Linked DNA regions of Homo sapiens: regions 1 and 2 are each linked to region 3. The links are contacts of gene promoters, found by promoter capture Hi-C in human tissues and cell types (Jung and others, 2019). All regions are on one chromosome and are shown on one strand. Each heading gives the region's core, a stretch centred on a gene start or on the middle of the fragment in contact. The rest is flanking DNA. Distances are from core to core; before and after follow the strand shown. Region 1 holds the start of FOSB (FosB proto-oncogene, AP-1 transcription factor subunit). Region 2 holds the start of BCL3 (BCL3 transcription coactivator). Region 3 overlaps PPP1R37 (protein phosphatase 1 regulatory subunit 37).

The links. Contacts are between HindIII fragments. The study calls those that stand out against the background at their distance.
Region 1: a contact is called between the fragment with the promoter of FOSB here and a fragment that was not itself captured in region 3, in 2 of the 25 tissues and cell types used here (dorsolateral prefrontal cortex and lymphoblastoid cells).
Region 2: a contact is called between the fragment with the promoter of BCL3 here and a fragment that was not itself captured in region 3, in 1 of the 25 tissues and cell types used here (dorsolateral prefrontal cortex).

The regions. Positions count from the first base shown.
Region 1 is chr19:45,466,439-45,470,003 of GRCh38, forward strand. FOSB (FosB proto-oncogene, AP-1 transcription factor subunit) reads left to right here and starts at 1,558. Exons shown (of 4, transcript NM_006732.3): 1 at 1,558-2,274. The coding sequence starts at 2,149. RefSeq lists a silencer at 1,195-1,474 and an enhancer at 1,659-2,560. The HindIII fragment of the contact is 8,650 bases long and covers 1-3,565 here.
Region 2 is chr19:44,747,098-44,750,589 of GRCh38, forward strand. It overlaps BCL3 (BCL3 transcription coactivator), which reads left to right and starts at 1,611. Exons shown (of 9, transcript NM_005178.5): 1 at 1,611-1,949. The coding sequence starts at 1,694. RefSeq lists silencers at 180-659, 720-849, 1,260-1,849. The HindIII fragment of the contact is 56,727 bases long and covers 1-3,492 here.
Region 3 is chr19:45,100,741-45,104,557 of GRCh38, forward strand. All of the region lies in intron 1 of PPP1R37 (protein phosphatase 1 regulatory subunit 37), which reads left to right. Among named protein-coding and RNA genes, the nearest start is that of PPP1R37, 9.5 kb to the left of the region's middle. The HindIII fragment of the contact is 9,683 bases long and covers 1-3,817 here.

The DNA.
Region 1 (3,565 bases), core at 308-2,807, 370 kb after region 3:
CACGCCTGTAATCTCGACACTTCGGGAGGCCGAGGCAGGCGGATCACCAGGTCAGGAGTTCAAGACCATCCTGACCAATATGGTGAAACCCCGTCTGTACTAAACATATAAAAATTAGCTTGACGTGGTGGCCCGCGCCTGTAGTCCAGCAACTCGAGAGGCTAAGGTGAGGCGGAGGTTGCAGTGAGCCGAGATCGCCACTGCACTCCAGCCTGGCGGCAGAGCAAGACTCCGTCTCAAAAAAAAAAAAAAAAAAAAAAAAAAAAAGACCTGACAAGTGAAAGCTACTAATATTGCCATTATCATTTAAAAAAACCCCAGACACAGGTTTTTCAGGGAGTTTCATCCAACCAGGCAGGTCTCAGAAATCAGAAAAGAAATGGAAAGGGTAGGAAATCTGGAGTTTGACAATTCTGAGTTTGAATTTCTTGTGATGGGATCTTGGGCAAGTCATTTAACCTCCCTGAGTATCATTTTTTTCTTTTATAAAATGAAGATTTTTCTCTCTTAACCTTCCAGAGCTGTTTTAAGGATTACAAATCTTCTACTGAAAGGCGTAGCACAGGAGCTGTGCTTGGCAAGTGCCAAATACAAGGCATTAATTATTATTATTAGAATTAATAATAATATCCCCTCCCTCTTACACATTCTTTGTCTCCGGGTGGATTAAAAGGTGGAAGGAGAGGCTACCAACACCATCAGAAGAGAGGCTTCTCTCTAAGTTTCATTTCCCATCTCCTCCAAATCCGCATCCCTCCCAAACGCCGGACCTGTAAGGCCAGCAGGGTCCAAGACACACATCCTTTGCCCAGCGGGGAAGATTAAAGCTAAAGCTCAGAGAGGGAAAACATTTCCTAAGCTCGCACAGCGAATCAGGACAGAAACCAGGACGAGCCTCGGAATCCCTCCATTACCTCCACTTTCACCTGAGCATCACAGCCCGCTCGGGACTCAGTTTCCCCACCTACGTGACCACACCACACTAATCAGGGTCTCCTTTTGGAGATCTGCTCTTCTTCTCGAATGGGGGCGCTGCACCATCGGTAGAACAGGGTAGGTGGGGGCGCCAGAGGTGAAGGGGACCTGCAGGCTGGGGTCTTCCCCGCCCGGGTCAGCGGGGTCCCTGCGGGGCTAGTCTAAGCGCCTATTATTACCAGCCCCCGGGGCGGCGTTGCACTGCGCAGGCGCGGGCGGGGCGCGGGCGCGCGCGCGAGCGAGCGAGGGATTCCCTCTGACGTCATTGCTAGGATACCAAACAAACACTCCGCCGCGCCGGCCGAGCTCCTTATATGGCTAATTGCGTCACAGGAACTCCGGGAAGGCGGGGCCGGGATCCCCTCCCGCCGAGTGGCCCGGAACGCAACCCCCGAGACCCCCAGGGCCCCGAGGGTCATGCAAGTGACCAGATCGAGTCTAGAACAGACCTCTTGCTGGACAGTGCGGGACTCGATTTGGCGGGGCCGGAGATTTGGGGAAGTTTGTCCAGCAAGGGGCGGGTGACGTAAGCAGGGGGGCGGGTCCCGGGCATATAAATACAGGCTGGCGGGTCTGTGCTTCATTCATAAGACTCAGAGCTACGGCCACGGCAGGGACACGCGGAACCAAGACTTGGAAACTTGATTGTTGTGGTTCTTCTTGGGGGTTATGAAATTTCATTAATCTTTTTTTTTCCGGGGAGAAAGTTTTTGGAAAGATTCTTCCAGATATTTCTTCATTTTCTTTTGGAGGACCGACTTACTTTTTTTGGTCTTCTTTATTACTCCCCTCCCCCCGTGGGACCCGCCGGACGCGTGGAGGAGACCGTAGCTGAAGCTGATTCTGTACAGCGGGACAGCGCTTTCTGCCCCTGGGGGAGCAACCCCTCCCTCGCCCCTGGGTCCTACGGAGCCTGCACTTTCAAGAGGTACAGCGGCATCCTGTGGGGGCCTGGGCACCGCAGGAAGACTGCACAGAAACTTTGCCATTGTTGGAACGGGACGTTGCTCCTTCCCCGAGCTTCCCCGGACAGCGTACTTTGAGGACTCGCTCAGCTCACCGGGGACTCCCACGGCTCACCCCGGACTTGCACCTTACTTCCCCAACCCGGCCATAGCCTTGGCTTCCCGGCGACCTCAGCGTGGTCACAGGGGCCCCCCTGTGCCCAGGGAAATGTTTCAGGCTTTCCCCGGAGACTACGACTCCGGCTCCCGGTGCAGCTCCTCACCCTCTGCCGAGTCTCAATATCTGTCTTCGGTGGACTCCTTCGGCAGTCCACCCACCGCCGCCGCCTCCCAGGTAAGTTTTTGATAGTAGGGGTGCTGCTTTGTAGGTTTTATTTTTTAAGTCAAGGGTGAAAAGAATAAACCCCAACCCCCACAAAAAGGCGCATCAGAACCCTAGATCTGAGATGGAAAAGGCTCACAGCGCACTTTGCAAACTGCAAAGAGTCGGGAGATGTTTGCAATTGGTTGCGTGCGTGGAGCGCAAGGAGGGAACGCGGCAGGGAGGGTAGGCTTTGGGGCGAGGTGGGGGTGGGGTGGGTAATGCGCTGCTCAATGCAACGTGTATGCGGTAGCGGGGCTGAGAACTTTGAGCCGGCCCCGGGACTGCCCCCTGCTCGGGTCCCAGACCTGAAGCTAGCGCAGTTAGGCAGGTGGGGGAAATCCCGGGGAAGCTTCCAGCAGTCTCTTTTCCTTTCCTCCTCCTTCGGAGCGCCCACTTCGGTGCCGGGTCGCCCTCCACCCATCGGGAAGAGGGGCCTCGAACCCTCAGCCGCGCTGCCTCCGCCTCCTGCGCGGAGACGTAACGGGGGACCCGTGCGTAACGGCTGACGCGCTGGAATCCTCCGTCTGACGCGGGGCACGCACGGCGCGCGGCGCCCCCTTCGTCCGCCCCGCCCCTGACGTCCCGGGAGCGTTCTATTTTGGAACGCCGGGGCCACGTTGCTAAGGGAGGGGGCAGCCCGGCGTTTCGATTGGCCGCCGGGGCGCACGCCTTGGCCAATCAGCTTTCCCTTCCTATTTGTAGGGTGCATTTTCCTTCCCCCCTCTCTGTCCCCGGAACCCGTGGTTCCTTGGCGGCTGGGTCTCTTTTCGGCGCCTCTAGAGGCAGAGGGAGGGGATCCCTGTCGTGACAAGAGCGCCTGTCTGCGACCCAATGGATCTGCGAGGCCCTTGCGGGGATCTAGTCCCTGGGCTCTCAGGAGAAGGGGGTGTCTGCTTGTGTGCTGGCGTTTCTTGGAGAGATACGGTGGCTGTCACCCTCTTCTCCAGGCACACACAGACACATTCCCACTCCCTCTGCTCCTCATGCCCGGTTCCTCCGGTGTGTCCCAAGACAGGACTAGAACCGCGAACCGAAGGGCAACCAGCCAGGTGGTCTCCAGGAGCTCCGCCCCCTCTGGGTTCCCAGGACTCTGATTGGTCGGCGAGCCAGCCCTTCCCTCACCACGCCCCCCGAGAGAGTAGTTAAGCCTTCAGAGCAGTTCCAGGAGTCCATTTACGGGAGGGGGGAGATGAGCGCTGCTGAGGCTTGGGGGCTCAGGTCCCGCACCATTCCCCCTCCGCGACAATCTGAGAGAGCTCCA
Region 2 (3,492 bases), core at 361-2,860, 350 kb before region 3:
ATAAGGGAGATCCAGAGAGAGGTCGAAAGGAAGGGAAGGGGTGAGGCCTCTCCACACAGCCACTTCTCACATCCTGGGTTAACGATCCACTCGGGTGGGGCCCGAGTCCGGCCAAAGTCCCTTCCCGGGGCCCCAATACCCACTTTCAAGGTCCCAGGGGACACAGAGACAGCAACAGAGATGGGGAGACAGAGACAGAGGGCGGGGCAGGAGACAACCAGAGGGAGGTCAGGCAAGTTTCGAAGACAGAAGGAGACCGGGGGAGAGAACCAGAGAGACGCCGCGTGCCCCCTGGGCAAGTCCGGGGTGCAGCCCCCATGCCCCGCCCCCTGTGTCCCCAAAGCCTCCCTCTCCGCCTCCTGTGACTCAGTGACCCGGACTCAACCCCAGCGGCTGCCCCGCCCCCAGGGAAATCCGGGAAAGCCCCGGACCTTCGGGGCCCCACCCCGGGGCGGGGAGAGGGAGAGGAGGGGAGGAGACGGGGAAGAGTCCCGCCTCCCTCCTCCCTCCCTCCCATCTCCAGCCTGAGTCATGCCCCCAACCCGCCTAGCCTGTTCCCCACCCATCAACCCCTCCTCGAGGTGGGAGGGGAAGTCGGGGGGAAGCCAAACTGCTCCCCGCTCCTGCAGCACCGGCCTCGGTCGCGCTGACTCTGGCCTGGTGTCCGTGTCTCTTGCTATCTCTCTTTCTCTCAAGATCTCTGCGCCTGTCTCCATGTCTCTTTCTCTCTGTGCACCTAGGATTTTCCGAGCACCCACCCCGGTGCCCCGCGGGCCCCGGCTGGGGGCAGGGCCCCCAACGAGTGCAGAGACACAATCAGTGGAGCGCTCCCCACCCTCACCCCACCCCCAGCCCCTTTAGACCCACAGCTGATGAGGCACGTGGAGTGGCAGAGATGGAAGAGGGGAGGGAGAGGAATCGTTCCTGGCCGCCTGCCGAGTGCCAGTCCCTGCCCCGGGTGCGTCTCTTCACTCCCACTAAGGAGGAAACGGCTCAGAGAGGGGAAGTGTTTGGCCAAGGTCACCCAGCGAGTAAGTGGGAACCGAGATTCCAAACCCCGTCCCAGAGATGCCAAGGCCTCCTGAGAGACAGAGAAGCAGACAGCAACTGAGAGGCAGAGAGATGGTGACAGACACAAAGAGACAAAAGAGAGAGACAGAGACGGAACAGAGCACACAGAGACAAACGCGGGGTTGCGGAGAGAAACACCTACTCAGACAGGAGAACCAGAGAGACAGTTACAGACTCAGAGATAGAGATGTTGAGAGATAGGGCCAGAAAGACAAAAACAGAGGCAGAGAGAGCGGCCCTTGGCAGCAGGGGTGGGGACACCCCCCCACCCCCCGACCCCGCCTCCTCTCCCCCCACCCCTCCTTTCCTCTCCCTCCCCCGCCGAGGCCTGGCTGCCCCAGGCGCCGCGGGCCGGGAGGGGGCAAGCGGGGCGCGGCGCGGGCGGGGCGCAGGGCAGGCTGCACCTCAGAGCGGCGGGAGCAGCGGCGGGTCCAGGAAACCCCTGGGGCGTACGGGTGGCCCCGGGGGGGCCGGGGGCGGGGAGGCGGGCGGCCGGCACCGCCCCGGCCGACAAAAGTCCCTTCAGTTCAGCCGGCTGCAGGGGAAGTCCCGGCGCCCGGCGAAACCACCCTCCCGTGCAGCCGAGCCCAGCCGCTCTCCGGCCGCCGTCCCCGGCGGCCCCATGCCCCGATGCCCCGCGGGGGCCATGGACGAGGGGCCCGTGGACCTGCGCACCCGGCCCAAGGCCGCCGGACTCCCGGGCGCCGCGCTGCCGCTCCGCAAGCGCCCGCTGCGCGCGCCCTCCCCGGAGCCCGCCGCTCCCCGCGGCGCTGCGGGCCTTGTCGTCCCCCTGGACCCTCTGCGCGGCGGCTGCGACCTGCCGGCGGTCCCCGGGCCCCCCCACGGCCTGGCCCGGCCGGAGGCGCTTTACTACCCCGGTGAGTGGCCCCCGAGGGTCCGGGCCGGGTGGGATCCACACAGAGCATAGGGTCACCAGAGCCAGGAGGCAGAGCTTGAGGCACAAACCGGTGTCTCTCCAGGGACCTGGGGGACAAGAGGATATAAGCCCAGGTTCCAAGGATATAGATATGAGATCATCGGGGAGCCAGTAAGCTGTGCCTTGGGATCTGGGGATTTGGGGACCCTGGGGGGCAAAGCCCAGGGGCTGAGTGACGTGGGGGGGGGGGGGCCAGGGACAATGCCCAGTGGTACAAATATGGGGGTGTCAGGGAATCAGGGCACAGAGCCTGGTATCCTAGGGGCAAGAAAGTACAAGCTCTTAAGCCAGATGTGTAGCGTTATGAGGAAGCTGAGCTGGGCTGGAGAAACTGGGGTTCCCTGTATCCTGATATTATTAGAATCAAAGGGAGTCAGGGTAACAGAGACTGGGGTTCTAAGGAGACAGATACTGAGGATCTCAGGATGTCACAATCTCAGGAACCAAGATATCTGGAGACATGGGCATTATGAAAACAGAGATGGGGTTCTGAGCACCCCAATATCTGGGATCACAAGGATCCAAGGAAATGAACCAGAGCTCCAGGGACCCAGATACCAGGGGGTCTTGAGGACCCAGGAGAACAGAGACCCGGGTTTCTGGGTACTCAGTTATGTGGGGCCACAAGTGATCAGGGTCCTATTTGAGGTCAAGATCAGGTGGGCAGAAGGGATCAGGGGACTGAGGATCCTAAGATTGGGTAATTCTGAGACTTTGGGTAATTTAGAGGCAGGATGAAAATTTCAGGGGTCTCCAGACAGAAAGCCTCAAGGCCTCAAGGCCTGGTATTGGAGATACGAGGACCTGGAAACTTGGGAGTTCAAGAACAGAGGGCCCACAAGGATCAGCAGATGACGAAGACCACACACTCTTCTCTCCATCCTATCTCCATCCCTGATCTCAAGAAGGGGTGTCCTCTACCACAGCTGTGGCCACGTCACCATCCCCAATTGACCCCCAAAGCTGCAGAGAGCCGTTCTACAGAGCCCCAAAACTTTAGGTAGTTTCTGCACCCTCCACCCCATCAGCGTGACAGCTGGAGAGCCTCAAGCTATGTGCATCAGGAGTTCTGCCACGGCCTCCCAGCTTTCCTATTCCAAGAGTGAGAAAGCAGGCCTCAGTTTTCCCCGTCTGTGTGATGGGTTGGTATGGATTTGCCTGCTGCCATGGTCCCCTCGCCTTTGTTTGTTTTTGTTTTTGTTTTTTGAGACAGAGTTTTGTTTTGCTCTGTCGCCCAGGCTGGAGTGCATTGGCGTGATCTCGGCTCACTGCAACCTCCGCCTCCCAAGTTCAGGGGATTCTTGTGCCTCAGCCTCCCGAGTAGCTGGGATTACAGGCATGCACCACCACACCTGGCTAATTTTTGTATTTTTAGTAGAGACAGGGTTTCACCATGTTGCCCAGACTGGTATTGAACTCCTGACCTCAGGTGATCCGCCCGCCTCGGCCTCCCAAAGTATTGGTATTAGAGGCATGAGCCACAG
Region 3 (3,817 bases), core at 977-3,476:
GTTGTGGCAGGGAGGAGAAACAGAAACAGGTGGGGTAAGGGCCCAGCCTTGGTGGGCACGCAGGAGGGGGTCACTGTGGTTCGTGGACAGCTTGAGTCCCTGGAGATTTGTGCTGCTCCTCTGTCCTCAGCATTGCCTGCTGTTCTGACCCTTGGCCTCTGGGACGTGTTCTTCCTGTGCTACTCAGTGTCTGGTATGTGATAGGCGCTCAATATATTCTTGCTGCGTGAGTGACTTGGTGACCCCGTAACCAGTCATGCATTCAGCATGGTGTGGCCGTGCCACGTGTTACGAGTCAGGGCAGAAGACAGGCCCAGTCCATGCTTCTGTGGGGGTCACAGTCAAGTGAGGGAGACACACAGTAAAGAATTCTCAGCAAACCAGGCTTCTGAGGACTCAGATTAGGGAGGGTCCACAGGGTGTGCAGGAGGGCAGGGCAGAGGCAGCTTCCTAGAAAGGACGTCACCAAGGAAATCCAGCAGTAAGCCAGGTGAGGAGCAGTGGGAGGAGTGCACCAGGGGTGGAAGGCAGAGAGAACCAGCCTGGTATGTCTGAAGAACAGAAAAAAGCCAGACTTAGTTGAGGTAGAGGCAGGCTGGTCAGAGGTGAGGCTGGAGGAGGCAGGAGAGACTGCTGTGTGGGGCCTTATGGGCTGTGCTAGCAGGGAGCCCCAGAGGGCTTAAGAAGGGGCCTGGGCTGGGCATGGGGGGCTCACGCCTGTCATCCCAGCACTTCAGGAGCTCCAGGCGGGAAGATCACTTAAGCCCAGGAGTTTAAGACCAGCCTTGGCAACATGACGAGACCTTGTCTCTACAAAAAATACAAAAATCAGCCGGGCATGGTGGCATGTGCCTATAGTCCCAGCTACTCAGGAGGCTGAGGTGGAAGGATCACTTGAGTCCAGGAGGTCGAGGCTTTAGTGAGCTGTGATCACACCACTGCCCTCCAGCCTATGTGACAGAGTGAGACCCTGTCTCAAAAGAAAAAGGAGGGGCATGGTGGGTGTTTTTAACAGAATCCTGTGTGGAGGTGACATGAATAGGGTGAGACTGAGACAGGGAGGCCAGGGAGGGGCCGTGAGCCAGGAGCCCGGAGGCTGTAGGCTTGGCGTAGCCTCATATTGGCTGATAGCTGACACTTGACTTCATTGACTTCTTCATCAGATTCCTCTGAGTCCTCCCCTCCACCAGCAGGTTTGCCGATGCCACTGTTTCCCATAGCACCTCTGAGGTGACTGTTATTCCCCTTCCCTTCTCTCCTTGGATCTGAGTCCCTTCCCTCGTGCTCCCCCAGCCAGCGTGTCCTTGGCCTGCTTGGGACATCCTGCCCCTGCATGGGCTGTGGGAGGCGTGTGGGCTGTGAAGTCCGGTGACCTCTCCAGTGACTTCACCTCCACAGTCCCTTCAGGTCTCACAGTACCCAGATCCAGAAAACTCTACAGACCATCCCAAACCCCTCTGGTGGCTTAGCGCAATATCGGTGTCTGATCAGTCTTATAAAATCCAGAAAATTCTGATTCTAAAACACGTCTGGCCCAAGGGTTCCAGGAGGAGACTCTGGAGCCCGCAGCGGGCCTCGTTCCATGTTTGTGAAATGGCAGTAACCTGAGAGGCAGCACGGGAGCCCCCTGGGTGCCAGTCCCAGCTCTGCCCTTGGGCAAATCACCCAGCTTCTTTGCCTCAGTGTCCCCATTTGTATGGGGATTGAGGATTAAATTAGCCTCTACTTGGAAAGCAGCTGGAACAGTAGCTGGCTGTTGCAGGCGCTCATGAGGACATGGGAAAGTTGAGTGAGGTGGTCACTGCCTTGAACTTGACTGGTTCCTGCCTCCCCCGGCTGTAAGGGTTAGGCAGGTGGGGCTAGATGACCAGCGGGTAGGATCATCTGCCTGAGTGTGATTTCGGCTCCTCCACACTTGGGCTGTGTGGCCTTGGGCAAGTCCCTTGACCTCCCTGGACCACTTTCCCCATTTGTGAAGCCATTTTGCCAGATGAGGACTCTCTCAAAGTTTTTAGACTCTCTGGGAAGACCAGAGAGCCAGGCCTGGGGCCCACGCCAGCAGGAGCACACCCTGCATCAAGTGTGGAGCTGATGCCGCTCCTGTTACATAGCCGCCACAGCACCTCCAGGGCTGAGCCCACGTCAGGCTCCTGGGCTGGAGCCACACAGGAGGCTGGGGTCTGCTGTTTCAGCTAAGAGGAGGTGGGAGATGTGGAGGGGCTTCCCTAATTGCAAGAAGGTGGTTCAGAGGCTGGGTGCCAAAAGGAATTCGAGAGATCCGTCATGCTTGGCTATGTTTCGTACATTAAGTAGGAAGGTCCATGAAGGCAGGACCCATCTTTGTCTTGGCTCACCTGTGTCCCCAGCACCCTCCATGGTGCCTGGCCCTCCGCAGGGTCTCACACTGGATGAATTGGTGGTGGATGGAGGTACACAGTAGGCACTCAGAAGTTGTTCTCACCCCTTCCCTTCCTCTAGGCAGCTGGTACTGAGCGGTTGCCTCAAGGTGGGGGTGGAGGTTTGGAAGTGTCTGCTGACATCCGCACAGCTCATGTGACTTGCCCAGCGCCCATCTCACTTCGCAGCGGAAGCCTGGGTCGGGAGCCCTGCAGTCGGATGCTCCCCTCAGGGCTGGTTGGGTTCCAGCTGGGAATGTGTTCCCTGGTTAGGTGGGCGGGCTCCTCTAGCAAGCTGGCGCTTGGGACCCGCCGGGGTCGGACTCGTGTGCCACCTTCACACCCACCCCTCCCTCTCTCCACGGTCTCCGAGGCTCTCACCAGCTGCTGTCAGCGATGTAGTGGAGAACTGCTCGCGTCCTGTGCAGTCTTCCCTTTTGCAAAGCAAAGCACTGTCACAGCTGAACTCGCTTGGTTCCCCAGGACAACAGGGAGGGAGGGTGGGAGAGTGGGGCTGCCAAAAGGTGAAAGCGAGCCGCAGGGAAGTGACTCTCTGCAGGGGTCATGCCTCCTGGTGGTGGTGATGGAGGTGATGGTACTCAAAGCTCCCATTTATGGAGCGCTTAACAGGGCTAAGCTCTTTACATGCATCGTTAATCTTGGAGGAGGAAACAGGCTCACAGAGGTGCCAAGGCCACACAGGTAGTAGAGGAGGAGCTGAGTTATAGCCCGGCAGCTTGAATGGTTCTGATCCTCTGTCCTGTTTCAGAAAGCCCCCAGGGCTCCACTGTAACTACAGGACAAAGTCCACACCCGTGGGCCTGGTGTGGGAGGCCTTTCCCACAGAACGCCCAGCCTCCTAGACACAGGCGCCTCTGCCTAGCACGCCCCTCGCTAGTCCCCTGCCCTTCCTGACCAATTCCCGTTACCCCTCCCACGCCTAGACGCAGGCGCCTTTGCCCAGCACACCCCTCGATAGTCCCCTGCCCTTCCTGACCAACTCCCCCTCCCGTGCTGCCTTCTGGGCAAGGCCTTCTCTAATCCCCGGACAAAGCTCTGCTCCGCTCGTCTGGGTTCCCATGGCGCCTCCTCGCTCTGTTGTTATTTGTTCGGGCCCATCTCCCCTCCCTGGACCAGTGCTGCAGAGGGCTGCATCCTGTCCATCTGGCTCCTGGGAGGGGTGGAACCACTGAACGCCTCCAGGAACCTTAAGGACTCCGGGCAAAGTGGGGTTGCTTATGAGCACCCAGGCCGGGTGCCGCAAAGCCTTTGTAACCCAGGCACTGGGGCTCAGGACAGTCAGGGAGCATGGGGTGTGGGGAAGGAAGATTTCGTTCACTGAGTCCTTTTTTCCTGCATTCATTCCTTCATTCCTTGCCAACCAGCGCCTGTTTTGCCTCCACTTTGCTGTCCCTGCCATG